2 separate regions of the Homo sapiens genome follow, and region 1 is linked to region 2. Evidence: promoter capture Hi-C in 16 types of primary human blood cells and fetal thymus (Javierre and others, 2016). All regions are on one chromosome and are shown on one strand. The core of a region is centred on a gene start or on the middle of the fragment in contact, and the rest is flanking DNA. Distances in the headings are between cores, read along the strand shown.

Evidence for each region. Contacts are between HindIII fragments. The CHiCAGO score rates a contact against its expected background, and 5 or more counts as called.
Region 1: a contact is called between a fragment that was not itself captured here and the fragment with the promoter of DLG3 in region 2, in 1 of 17 cell types (naive CD4 T cells). The highest score is 6.1, in naive CD4 T cells.

The regions. Positions count from the first base shown.
Region 1 is chrX:69,491,295-69,498,679 of GRCh38, forward strand. No RefSeq gene overlaps it. Among named protein-coding and RNA genes, the nearest start is that of NALF2, 9.3 kb to the right of the region's middle. The HindIII fragment of the contact is 167 bases long and covers 5,934-6,100 here.
Region 2 is chrX:70,441,399-70,448,420 of GRCh38, forward strand. DLG3 (discs large MAGUK scaffold protein 3) reads left to right here and starts at 3,437. Exons shown (of 19, transcript NM_021120.4): 1 at 3,437-4,160. The coding sequence starts at 3,804. RefSeq lists an enhancer at 2,955-3,741. The HindIII fragment of the contact is 21,076 bases long and covers 1-7,022 here.

The DNA of each region.
Region 1 (7,385 bases), core at 4,767-7,266, 950 kb before region 2:
CCTTCAAAACATTATGCTAAGTGAAAGAAATCAACCACAAAAGACCACATGTTATATGATTCCATTTATATGAAATGTCCATAATAGGCAAATCTATAGAGACAAAAAGTGGATTGATGGGTGGTTGCTTAGGGATGGAGACGGGGGTTGTGGCTGGAGGGTGATGACTAAGGGGTATAGAGTTTCATTTTGGGATAATAAAAACTTTCTAAAATCAATTGTTGTGATGGTTATACAATTCTGTGAATATACTGTACTAGAAATCATTGAATTGTACACTTATATGGATAAATTGTGTGGTATGTGAATTACCTCTCAATGTAGCTGTCAGCAAAAAAGAGAATGAAGTATCTGATAAACAAATATGTAGAATATACAAAATATCATAAAACCAAAAGAAGTAGACCCCAAAGAGTATATACTGTGTTGTTTCATTTATATGAGATTCTAGAACAGGAAAACTAATGCACAGCAACAGAAACCATATCCATCGTTGCCTGTGTGGGCCAAGGACTAAGAGAAAGTGAAAATGAGAAGACTTTCAAGTGTGATGGAAGTATTTTACATCTTGATTTTAAGTGGTAGAAATAGAGAGCACACATTCATTAAAACTCATTGAGTTGTACACTTAGGATATGTGCACTTCACTGTATGTAAATTTTACCTCAGTTAAGAGAGGATACAGGAGACAAGTGACTCGAGAAAGGAAGAGAGGAGAAATAGAAGAGAGGAAGACGGGAGGGGAAGAGAGGGAGAAAGGAGGGAGCAGACTTAGGAGATATTTATAAAATAGAATCTATAGATTTGGCATCTGGTTGGATATAAAGGATCAGGGAGAGAAGGGACTGCAATAAAAAAGGTGGCAGAGTAATAGTCTGTAAGAATCCCGACTTTAAAGCCAGATAAATGGGTAAGAGACTCCTCCAAGAACTAGCTGTGGGATCCTGGGCAATCATCTCACCTCTCAGAGCCTTCCTTGGTTTATTCACCTGTAAAAATGATAACAACCCATCTTTCATGAATTTTTATAAGGATTAATGAAATAATACATGTAAAGACCTACAGGAATTCAATTATGACTCTCAGATTTCTGACTCAGCCCCTAGACAGGTCTTGCTCTGCCTCTGGGATGAGATAGTGGTCTCAGATACATGAAGGAGTTATAGAAGGGATATTCAGAGAAAAAAGCCCAAAGTGAGGATGAGCAGCAGTTTCCCAGCATGCTGAGGGCTGGACTTGGGGCCCAGGACAAAAGTCACTAGATCTACTTTTAGGAGACATCTTCCCACCAGATTCTTAAGCTGGTAGGTGGGATGCTGGTAATAACCTCACTCTTCTAGTTCATAGTCTGAGAGGCATACACCCTCTAAACCTCTTTTCTTACCTCTACCTGGGCCATCAAGTTTGGCCTTGGACCCCATTTTTCTGGCTTGGTGGGTAGAGTGGTACTCTCTCTGAGAGCAATGGGACACTTCCCTGGACTCTGTGGGGGAAGCCTACATCTTTTGTATCTGATCAAAATCCTGCTTCCTTTTCCATCCATGCCTTAATGTCCAAAGGTGTGCAAGGCCCAGAGGGTGGAAAGTCTGGGCCACCTCTGACCTATCAGAGCTACCAGGCAAAGCAATAGAAGCTGAGTCATGGTTTCTGGATTAGCTTCGAGGAATAACTTGGGAAGGGTCATGCTCCTCAGACTTTGACATGGTTGCTTGGGGATCTTAGGGGCTTCAGGCTGATGATTTTTGAGCCTGTAAGAGAAGTCATCCTATTTCCAGTGTTTTGAACCCCTTCCTTCTCCTATGACTTCCCACATCCCCAGATGAGCTGGTGAGCAGCACCACCTCCCAGTCATGACCCTGAACCTCATCAGTCCCAAGATTTGACTGAGTTTCATCCTGCCTGTCTCAAGACAGAGCAACATTCCTGAAGCACTGCAGAGAGTGTGGGGGTGGCTATAAGGAGCTGGAGAAAGTGGCCAGAAATTTGGGATTCTGACAACCTTTCATCAGAAGTCACCTCAGGTGAGGAAAAATAACCTCAGTTACCATGTGGGGGCAGCAGAGGCCAGTTAAAAAACCTGGAGCCTGGACTAGGCGTTCCTGGGTTAAAAGGTTTCGGTCTGTGCGGGGAGTCATGTCGAGTCTGCTCAGTCCCAGGCCAGCATTACCTCCCTGCAGGCCAGCGCAGACCTGGCCCAATGTGGGGAGGGGGTGTTCCAAAGCAGTCAGAGAAGTCCAAAAAGAGGAAAGGTTCCAGGACAGTAGGGCAGCCTTGAAGACCCAAAATGCCACAATAGACAAGTCCAAAGCATAGTAAGGGAAGAGAGCAGTTATTTACATATAATTTCGTTCAGTCCTTACTGTGAGTATGCACAGAAATCTCTCCCTCCCTAACTGATTCTCACATAGATACATTCTTCTCCACTTTTGATATTCTTGGCTGACCTCTCCTAGCCTAGAACTCCTGTTCAGAACAGCTACCTCAGCTTCTGCCCCAGATCACCCTAGCAATAACTTTTCCATGTCCATCATGCTGGCCTTTAATGCCTGGAAGAACCACCTTCTTACCTTTATGGTCCATGAATTTAGGGTATCCGGATATTGTAAGAATGCAACTCAGGGATTCAGGGAAGAGTGTCATCCTCCCCCTGGGTACACAAGAAGGGTGAGTCATCAGTGATTTCTTGGGGAAGAGGGTGAGGCTGGTAACCAGTGCTAGCTTGATTTGTTACAAAACTCAGAAAACAATGGCTATCTACATTCTACAAATGAGCCTGAAAGCCAGAAAAACTCCAGAAAGACAAGGCCTTACTGGGAGAGTCCAAAAGCAAGCTCAGACTTCAGAGAAGAAAGAGGGAGCCTGTTAACTGACGTGTTGGGAGTTCAAGATGCCATCCACTCTGGAGACCACATACCTGATAGAATAAACAAACCCAGATATTAGTTTAGACCAACCAGTGAATGTGCTGAGCATCCCTGAGGAATGTCCTGGAGAAGCCTCACTGTTTTTCCTCCTGCGCTTCCATACCCATGTGTCAGGGTCAGATGAACTTCGAGTGGTTTCCTGGCTTCCTTCCTGCAGGCCTAGAGACTTCCATCCTGAAAGCTGCCATTAACACATTATCCCTTTGGGTGGGTCACATCTCTCCTTTGGACTGGGTCAAGAGTGAGAAAAAGTTGCCCTGGCCCTCCCCCAAAGATAATTCTGAAGATAACCCTCAGGTAAAGGGCTCTACTGGCCATCATGAAGGCAAAACAGGACAGAAGTAACAAAAGCAACATATTGCACATACTAGGTTTGGTGAATTGTTACAGTGGAATAAATGTAAAGTGACAAAGGATCCACCTTCCAAAGTTTCCAGATAGTTGGAAGTTGGGCTCTATCTCCTGATCCCTTCTACGATGGCCACTGGAAGCTGCTAGGCTTCTTTCCTCTGCACTCCTTGGAGGGAGATCATCTCCCTCTAATCCCCCCACCCACATTTCACCCAACCCATCCCTGAAGCAAGGGCATGCAGGCCTCTTTTCTCTGCATGAGGAATCTGTATTTCAGAGGATGTTCACCCTGGGGAATGAGGAGGAGCACCCAACCCACAAGCCTTTGCTATACATAGAAATCTTCCCCTCTGGGAGTTTCCTCCCAGCAGATAACCAGACTTAATAACCTGCTGGTGAATGTGTCTCAGGCAGCATAAAAGAATAGAAAGACATCATGAGAGAAGAAAAAGGGAGGGCTTATTCTCTCCAACAAAGAACAGTTCAGGGAGGTCTAATATGTACTGAGGACCATATATAAGACACTTTAAGGTCATCATGACATTTTTTCTGCACAACAACCTTACGAAGTAACTATTTCTCCCCGTTTTTTTAACTGATAGGAAAACTGGCTCTGATTCTTTGTGCTCAGAAGTGCTAGGCTGGGTTGTAAACCCAGGCCTGCCTGATTCCAAAGTTAATGCTGTTTTAAAATACCAAAGTGCTGATTTATGAAGAGAGTGGGAGCTGATTGAGGCAACTGCGAGATCACTGGACCAGGACCCAAGCCACAGGAGGAGAACCACAGATCCTCCAGCAGACAGGACAGCCACAAAGCTGAAGTGCTTTGGCTTTGTGGAGGGCATATGCCAGAGTATTGCCCTCCCTCCAACACAGAGGCAGTAGAGGAGCAGGTTGTTGGAGAAGCCCCCAAGCCAGGGAAACCCAGGTTTTCCTTGGGCCCAAAGTCCCAGGTCACACATGGGTCAGTGTCCAAGGTGACTTGGACTCTAGTGCTCTGCCCAGATTTACTGCCTCAAGACCTCTACTCAGCTTCCTTCTATACTTAGCTCTACTGATAACAGGAGATGAGTCTGACCGTGACTTCACACTGAGTTGTGGAGGATGGAGCTCCTTCCTTACGCCCTGGCCCTAACTTTCACCACTTTCAGGAGGCAGTTGCCTCCAATGTGATGAGGCAGGAAGCTACAGAGAGGGGCTTTCTGGCCTTGACAAGCAATCTGCACCAGATCCAGGACCAGGAGCCTTTTGGCCAAGGCCTTGCCCTGCCTGGGAAGCAGACTCCAGAGAGGATCTGAAGAGCAGTGCTAGAGGGGTCCCATCTACCCATTACCAGATGGAAAATCTACCTCTATCTTGACAGGTATGTCTCATGTTCACCCATTAAAAAGTACTCAGTGAAGAAAGAAGCTGCTTCCCTTGAAAGGAGAAACTCATAGCACTGAAGAGAGAATCTATGGAAGAAGCAGCTCTAGTTTTCCCCCAACTCTGACCCTTTGAATTTCTCCTTTCCCCTTAGGGCCCTAGGTCTCCGTCTGATCTCACCATCATCACTTCCTTGGTAAAACAGAACCTGGGGGCTCCCAGGTTGAAGCAACGAATATCTTGGGGAGGAGGCATGCAGGAGAGAAGCTCTCATTCCCAGTACCCCCACAGTGAACTCCATGGTAGGGCTTGGCCTCTTTCTTTTTGCCCCTGCTGCCACATACTACATGCCCCAGCGATGTGTCACTCTCTTTTTAAGACTCTGGCCTGAGAGAGGCACAAAGCCTATCCTTGGCTTTCCCTGGGCACAGTAGAGTGAGCAGGAAGCAACTGCACAAAGAACTTTCTGAAGCAGTCTGGGAGAAGGAGAGGGACATGCCAGAAACCCAAACAGTCCAGCTTTCACAGCACATGTCTCAGAGCCAACCACAGCCAAGTTTTCTCTGAGACTCACACATTCTGTCTGTACTATATTCAGGCTCCAAAGCAGCAGAAGGCTGGCTCCTTCCCTCTCCATTCCTGACCTGTGCTCACAGGGTAGGCACCTCTTACCTCCAACCTCAGGGGGCAAGTGTTTGAGGGCTGGGTTCCCTCCCTGGCCAGTACTACAGAAACCTGCGTCACAGTCTTCTTGGAGTCCTCCCCCTCAGCTCTGGTTCCCTCTCTGAAGAATGCATTTCTTTTCCAGGTGATCCTTAGGACTCAGTTGTTGATTGATACCATTTATTAACTGACAGTTCAAGTGAGTGCCAACCCCCTACGTTGAGGGGTTTGGCTATGACCTTTATAGGCCCCACAGTCTGACAACACTGTAGCCCTATGAGACCTTTAACATCCAAATATCAAGAGTTACCCACACATGTACAACAAGGGTCTGATTTCATCAGAGTTGGCATCTTAATTCTCTGTACTGTGAAGTGTGGGGACTTGCATTCAGCCCAAAACAATAACCTTTATTAAAAACTCTTTGGATATACCTGAACCACTGTACTTTCATCCTTGCTATGAGAGGCATAAGAAATAGCTTTCAATTTAAGCAGGAAAAATGAAAATTGGAAACAAGATTTCCAGTGAATCTTGAAACTGAGAGAGCTTTGAAAATTAAAGACCCTCTACCTATGGCAATCTTTAACATAGGAAAAAATGGTCCTCCAAAGTATAAACTAGAAGAGAAGCTTTTGTGGGAAGGAAAGAAATGAATGAGGTAATCTCAATGTGACTAAAATCCTAAAGTGCTTTTCTCCATGGCTTTTCCATCCTAGAGGGTGTCTGAATTCCCTTTGCTCAAGCCACCCTCTCTATGCATCAAATCATAGAATCACAAAACCTTGGATGTCAAAAGCTTTAGAGATCATCTTGTGGCTATATCACCATAAGCAGTCATTCAACTTCTCCTTAGATATCTGCTTGAAGATACCTTCATTGAGAGGAATTCATTATCTCTGGAGGCAGACATGAGAGAATAACCTTCTGTTTCTACATGGTGTGGGTCATGTTTGGTATTAAAACACAGTCATGCTAGCAGATTCATTAAGGTAAAGCCATACTCCTCTAATGGAATTGGGATGGTCTCACTTTCTCACTTGAAATGTTTATTAATTAATTAATTCTAAATACGGAGCATCTATGTGCTAGGCATTGTGTTTGCAGCTAGAGAAACAAGGAGGAACAAAAACAGACATGGTTCCTGTTCTGAAGGATTCTGGAGTGTAGTGGGAGAGACAGTGATTAACCAAGGAATCACGCAAATAAGGGTGTAAATGCATCTAAGATAAGTGCTATGAAGAAAGGAAGACAGTTCTACAAGGGATCTAACAAGGGAACCTGACCTAGCCTGCAGGAACTAGTCAAGGAAATCTTCCCTGAGGAAGTGATGCTGGAACTGGAATCTGAGTATTAAGTAGGATTAGCCAGGCAAAGTGGCTAGAGGTAGGGAGTAAAGAGAGTGTTTCAGGCAAAAGAAACAGCATGTGCAAAGCTCCTGTGGCCAAAAAGACATGGCATTTGGAACTCAAAGGTGGCCAGTGTGGGCCAGGCATGGTGGCTCACACCTGCAATTCCAGAACTTTGGGAGGCCTAGGCAGGAGGATCACTTGAGGCCATTCTCAGGTATTCTGTTAGAGCAACACAAAATGGACTAAGACATAAGATTATTGGCTAAGAGTGAGAGGGTGGACACAGGGGTTGGAGGTTTAAGAAAAGAATGGAGAAGATTTGAAATAGTCATCCTGGAGAATGAAAAGTACTAAAGAAATTTAGTACCTGTTTGGATTGTGAAGCAATGTTGAAGGCTTGATTGAGATTGGTGATTTATAGTGGAGCAGGTCCCGTTTGTGACAATGGAGGTGGGTGGCTGAGGTAGAGTGGAAGAGATGGGGCAGTTTAGGAACCGGGAAGCCCAGGTGATGGCTGAATTTTAATTTGTATACTGAAGTCCCCTAGGATGATGGCGGGCCTTGCAGTCAGGGGTGGGGAAGCCAGTGAGACAGAAACCAAATCCTTCATTTGGTTTCAGTAGCTGCAGGGTCTGTACACTCCAAGCTCTGGAGTAGTGGTGAGCCTAGAGGTAGCCATCTAGGTACCTTTGTGGCCTAGAGTGGGATGGATCCTAGGGTGAGGCCACTC
Region 2 (7,022 bases), core at 2,187-4,686:
CACTGCACTCCAGCATGCTATATCTGGTGAAAATATCCTTCAGGAATGAGGGGGAAATCAAGACATTCTCAGACAAAGGAAAGCTAAGATAATTTGTTGCCAGCAGACAAAGAATGGCTAAAGGAAGTTATCAAAACTTACAGATGAATAATGGAACCATTTACATGTAATGAAACTTACATGTAAATGGTTCAGAAAAAGGGATAGATAGATAGATAGATAGATAGATAGATAGATAGAGCATTAACTGGGCATGGTGGCACACACCTGTGGTCCCAGCCACTTGTGAGGCTGAGGTGGGAGGATTGCTTGAGCCCGGGAGTTTGAGGTTGCAGTGAGCCATGATCACGCCACTGCACTCTAACCTGAGTGAGTGAGCAAGACCTACTCTTTAAAAAATATAGATAGATGGATAGATACATAGATACATAGACAGAGCAAATATAACAATCAAAACAAGTCAAATTGTCGACTTGATAAGGAAGGCATACAGTGGTGTCCATTGTACTACTCTTCCAATATTTTTGTATGTTTGTAAATTTTCATTTTTAAAACTGTTGGAGAGGATATGTGGAGGATAGATATATGATAAAGCAAGCATAGCAAAATGTTAATGAGAATCCTAGGCAGTGGGTAATTGGATGTTCACTGTAAAATTCTTTGAATTTTTCTGTATGTTTGAAAACTTTCATATTAAACTGTGGGGGCAAAAAACTTGAAAAAAAAATCACAACTTGGTATCCTCCCCTACCATTCCCAATCCATCTTACTGTGCTCTACTTTTTATTTTTTTCCATGGCACTTATCACCATATACACAGCAGGTGTATATGCTGAATAATGTTGTTTTCTTCAACATCATTTTGTTTTAACATTGATGAGGGGGAAAAAAAAACAACTAAAACGATTCCTGGCCAGAGCCACTGTCTGTGTGGAGTTTGCACACTCTCCCCATGTATGTGTGGGTTTTCTCGGGTATTCCAGGGTACTGCGCTTCCTCCCACATCCCAGTGCACGTTAGGTGAATTGGCGTGTCTAAATTGTCCCAGTGTGAGTGAGTGTGGGTGTGTATGTGAGCGCACCCTGTGATGGAATGGCATCCTGTCCAGGATTGGTTCCTGCCCTGTACCCTGAGCTGCTGTGATAGGCTGTGGCCACCCTTGACCCTGAACTGAAATAAGCAGATTGAAAAATGAATGAATGGATGGATGGATGGATGGATGGATGGATACAAAGTACTGTAAAATAAAAATTTGTCAAGTAGTTGATAATCATACAAATGCACAATAAACTATGAGGTAAGAAAGTGCTCATCGAGCTCACCATATTCGTGATTGTTTGCTTTTGAACTGCATGGTGGTAGGGAGGTGCTCCTTACAATTTTCGCTTTGCATACATTTATTCCTTGATTCAACCCACCACCACTTCCACTGCTGTCACTCACTGGTTCACCAAAGGTTAGGTAATTATTTACTTGTTTTCATTAATCTTTCTATATGTATGCATAGCTCATATTTATTTCAATGTTCAATATCAGAAGTGTTTTGGGTCTTTATTTGGAAGCTGGGTGATGTTTTGTGACCAGAAATATGCTGTAGGAACTTAGCTCTTGTTTATATTAATTAGCCTGTGGTAAAATTGGTTTTGTTATACGTTGTTTCACTTAGTCCCAGTTGCCAAGGACCTACCAATGATGTTAAATGAGGACCTACTGTACTACATAATTCACTTATTTATTGTGTTTATTTTTGTCTGTGTCCTCTCACTAGGAGGTAAGCTCCCCAAGGGCAGGGATTTGTTCTGTTTGTTCTGTTTTATTTTGTTTCCTGCTATATCCCCAAATCCTACAACAGTGTCTGGCACACAGCAAGTGTTCCACGCATATTTGTTGAATTAAGAATGAATCTCTGAGGGCCGGGCACAGTGGATCACACCTGCAATCCCAGCACTTTGGGAGGCCAAGGTGGGTGGATCACTTGACGTCGGGAGTTCGAGACCAGCCTGGCCAACGTGATGAAACCCCATCTCTACTAAGAAAATACAAAAATTAGCCGGGCGTGGTGGCAGGAGCCTGTAGTCCTAGCTACTAGGGAGACTGAGAGGCAGGAGAATCGTTTGAACCTGGGAAGCTGAGGTTGCAGTGAGCTGAGATCACGCCACTGCACTCCAGCCTGGGTGACAGAATGAGAATCCATCTCAAAAAAAAAAAAAAAAAAAAAAAAGAACCTCTGTATCCCTAATACCTAGGTCAAGGTCTTGCACAGAGCAGGTGCTCAATGAATATTTGCTGAATTGAACTGAGATGTAAATTCTGCAGGAGAACTTAGAATAGACCTGTCGTACTAGAGTGGTTCACAGCGTGGACTCTGGAGTCAAATAATCAGGATTTGCATCCTGATTCTGTCACTTCCAGCTGTGTTACCTAGCTGTGTTAACATCTTTGAGCCTCAATTTCTCATTGGTAAAATGAAGATAATAATAGCATCAGCTTGGTAGGATTTGGGTTTGCGTGTTATGCACTTAGGACTTTGTAAAGACCCAATAATTGGTAGCTAAAAACAAAACAAGAACTGCAAAAAAGATAGTCTTTCTTGTATGTCATCCTTCCTCCATTCCCCCGACAAGCTGAGCCAGGAGAGGGTAAGGAGATGTCCTTGGACAAGTATTCCTAAGCTCTATTCCAGACCCATAGAAGGGTTTCTCTCTCTTCAAATCCCTTCTTACCTTTTCACCTGTCCTGGACTTTCATCTTGATATCCTGAAGTTCCTTCCCCCATCATAACCATGCAGGGGTGGAGTGGAGGAGATAGGGGTTTGTGGGCCAGGGACAAGGACTTAGAGCTTTCTGTTAATCCCTGTTCTAGGGTTGAGTTCTTTACTGGTGATGGTAGAAGGTCAAGTGTGAGGTCACAGTAATTTCAGGGCCTAGAGACTGAGAGAACAATAGTCTTGTGTAGGAGGCATTGACAGGACAGCGGGCCTCATATGCTGCCTTCTTCTTTGGTCCCCTGTAAGAGAAAGCACCTCCCTCACCCTGCTCCAACGTCCTTTCTGTCCATCCTGCTACCTCGTCTTTACTTCTGGTGGCCCCAGCTCAGAGCAAGCCTGGGGACCCATTGAACATCTCCCTGCAACTCCCTCTTGGAAGTGGGGTGGGGTGGAGTGGGCAGAGGACAGGCTAAAACTGGCGATATAAGGGCACAAGATCGGGTGCCTGAGCTTTCTGGTGGCCCACGTCCTCTGCCCCCGCCCTTAGAGCCAACAGTTCCCTAGAGATTGGGGGAGCTGGGGCTGAGCCTGGGGGCGCCGCTGCCTCTGTTCCTTTAAGTAGCCGCTGTTTAGCATTCCTGCCGCCGCCGCTGCCGCTGCCGCTGCCTGCCTCTGCGCGCTGATTGGCTGGAATCAACTGAGAAGGGAGCCAGGGAGAGATGCTCTTGACTCCACTCAGATCCATCCTGGGGACCAGAGCAGAAGCGGTCCTCACAGCACCCATTCTCTGCTTGAGCTCCCGCTTCTTCTTTGCCGCTGGGCCTCGGCCCAGAAGCCACGACGGGCGACACGGAGCCGCCAGTGCTGGAGGGGGAGCCGTGGGTGCGGGGCAGCGTGGGGGCCGAGGCCCCGGGACGCCCGCCCGGCCCCAGGCCCCGCTCAGCCCGGGCGCCCCCACGGGTGCCCCCCCCTTCTTGGTCCGAGCAGTGTGAGTGTGCCAGGGAGCCCGGCGGCGGCGGCGGCGGTGGTGGCGGCGGTGGCGGCGGCGTGGAATCCGGCGTGGGCTGGGGGGTCCGAGCCGCGGGGGGCAGTGCCATGCACAAGCACCAGCACTGCTGTAAGTGCCCTGAGTGCTATGAGGTGACCCGCCTGGCCGCCCTGCGGCGCCTCGAGCCTCCGGGCTACGGCGACTGGCAAGTCCCCGACCCTTACGGGCCAGGTGGGGGCAACGGCGCCAGCGCGGGTTATGGGGGCTACAGCTCGCAGACCTTGCCCTCGCAGGCGGGGGCCACCCCCACCCCTCGCACCAAGGCCAAGCTCATCCCCACCGGCCGGGATGTGGGGCCGGTGCCTCCTAAGCCAGTCCCGGGCAAGAGCACCCCCAAACTCAACGGCAGCGGCCCCAGCTGGTGGCCAGAGTGCACCTGTACCAACCGGGACTGGTATGAGCAGGTATGGACCAGCGGAGGGGGGAGCGGTGGGGCAACCCAGGAGGGCTGGAGAGTGGGGGCCTAGAGGCCTGGGATGCAGTAGGGGTCGCTGGGGCTCCAAGCCTGTGGACCCCGAGCCCTAGCATTGCAGCTGGGCAAAGAGAGGCGGTGGGAAATGTGTGGTTCCCTGTGTGTGTCTGTTTGGGGGTCTCCATTAGAAGACTGGGAGGAGCCGTGTGTCAGGGGGTAAGGGCATGGCGGAGGGGCACATTTTCCTGTGTGGGGGAATTGGGTTTGTCTCAGTGTGGGGGTTTGGCAATGTCTCTGTGTCTGGCAGGGGGCGGGAGGTTCTGCGGGGGCTGTGTGTGGTGTGTGTCTCCACCGGAGGGGAGGGGAGGGGGCATGGTGCTCTGCGTAGGGGGGACATATGTGTGTGTATGTATGTTGGGGTGTGTGGAGGAAGGCAATGGAGCTGCCGTGAATCCGTGTGGAGGAGCCCATGTGCCCGGCTCGCTGAGCTTCATCCCTTGATGCCATGAGTCCCTCTCCGTCCCAGTCCCTTTGTGTGTGAATGTGCACATGGATGTGTGGAGATGTCACTCTGAATGTGGAGAGGTCTCTGTAGAGGAGGCTGCAGGGATGGCTGTGTTTGTGTGTGTGGCTACATGTATATGTGTGTGAGCATGTGGCTGCAAGAGTGTGCACGCGTGTGCCTGGTGTGTGTGTGTGAGTGTGTGTTTGTATGTGTTGTCTCTGGTGAGAGGCGCTTGACAGGCAAGGGAGGGGAGAGGAAGGAGGCGAGAGACATGTCCCAAGCAAGGCTGAGAGGCTGCTGAGAAGGACGGACTCTTTTGTCCAAGCAGCTCTGTAGTGTGTGTGCCGGGGTGGGGTGGCGGGGGGCGGGGGGAGATTTGAAGGAACTGAAGCAAGCCTCCTCGCTCTAGAGCAGGCATGGTGCCTGGAGCCGGCAAGGGGCAGCTGCCCTGGTGCAGAGACTGGCCCCAGTGGGGCATGTCCCCCTTGGGTACCTCCAGATGTGAGAGGGCTTAGCCCCCCAGCCCTGACTTGGCACAGCTTGGGAGCCCCTGGGTGCTGGGCACAACTCCGGCTTCCACTCCCAGCCTAAACTGCCAGCTTAGAAAATGGAAGGAGCATCTGTGGGAGAAGCAGCAAAATGGAGGCTGGGCTGGCAGAGCCAGGTCCCTGGCACGCAAGGCGGAGGGCCTGTCTGGTTATCCGGCTCTGCAGCTCCTAGGGTGGGGAGAGAGGAAGAGGAGGCTTTGCTGTCGAGGGCAGGTGATGACTTCCCCAAGCTGGTGACCGTTCTGGCTGCCTCTGTCCTCTGGGGATAGGATGTGCTCTCACTCAGAGGCAAAGGTGGGGACTTCCTGGGGAGAAGAGCCCTCAGTTCTGGCCTTCTGTCTGTCCACACTTACTGCTTTCCCACATCCCTTGCCTTGGCCTCTTGCCCTTTCCAGCGAGTCCCTCTCTCTCCTTTGCCCCCTCTCTGTCCTGGAGGCCTTTCTCTCGCAAACACCCTCTTATGCTTGTCCTGCCCGGCTGGGAGACAGGTGGCAATCCCAGGCTGGGCCAGTTGGCCAAGGTTTCTTTGCCAGGGCTGATCCCTGGATGGCTCCTGGCCCTGAGAACAAGGTCCTTGAGTAGGGGTGGGGGCTAGAGCGTGGACCACTGGGAACGGGAAGCCTCTGGGTACCACTGGGGCTGGGCTTGAGGCATGGCTTGTCACATGTGGGCACACATGGTACACCAAATGCACACAAGAGCCACATGGGTGTCCCTTTGCTTATGTGTCTGTTGCATGGTACTTAAGGCAGCTGTGTTGGTTTCGGGTCTCTAAGGAGCCTTCAGTTCTTCTTCCTGGGGTCACAGACCAGGGTAAGGCTGTAGCTGGAGTCCTCCCACCAACTCCCACAGCTGCAGAGCCAGCCCAGAAATGGTGGAGGCATGATGAGCTAGTCCTCTCTCCCTCTCCTCCTCTCTGCTTCTTGAAGCCAAAGCTGTGTGGGGTGGAGGTGGGACGGGGGAAGCACAGCAGGACATGTGGAGGAGCCCCCACCCTGGTTTCCAGCTCCCCACTTCTGAGGAGGAGGCTAGAGGTCAGGGAAGGGACAACATAGCCAGAGAAAGGTGGGGGAGGGGTGCCAGGGTACCTGGGGAGACAGGCAAGAGGGCTTCTCCATTCTTGGAGGTGAAAGTGGGAGCCAGCAGGCAGGTGCTGCTTGTATGTCCAGAATCACATTTTCACTTGACAAATAGATACACACATGTCCTGTCTGGGAGGCCATCTCTGTGGGTTGGCCAAATCACCCCTGTGTTTCTGACCCCTTCCCTTGCCTCTTCTTGCATGGCTACTACATATTGAAAACCATGGACTCTGCTGCCAATCAGCCTGTGGGTCACCAACTTCTCCCTCATGGGGAATCTTGTCTACCCTGCTCCAGTCCCACCCGTGGCTTTGTCTCTGACTCCTGACCAGATCCCACCCTCGCCCTTTCTGCTGGGAAAAACAAAGGGCTCAGAATCAAAAATCCTTTGGTAGAAAATGGATTAGGACTTTGACTCCTTCTGCCTATTTGAGGAATTGGGTTCCTGGAGTCCAAGAAAGAGGTATAGAGTGAAGACTCACGAGGTGCTCCAAAGTGGGGCAACTGTCCTTTTTCCCATGAGCTCTGCTGGGGTACGGGGATGAGTGACCAAAACATCAGTGGCCTTAAGAGCTTACTGTAATCAAAAGAACACCTGGATATCCTATTGCTCTGTCACTAATTCCCAGTGTGCCCTTAGGCACATCCCATGTCTTCTCTGGGCCTCCGTGTCACCTACTGTCACATAAAGGGGATAGGACAAGATGATGTCTGCTGTC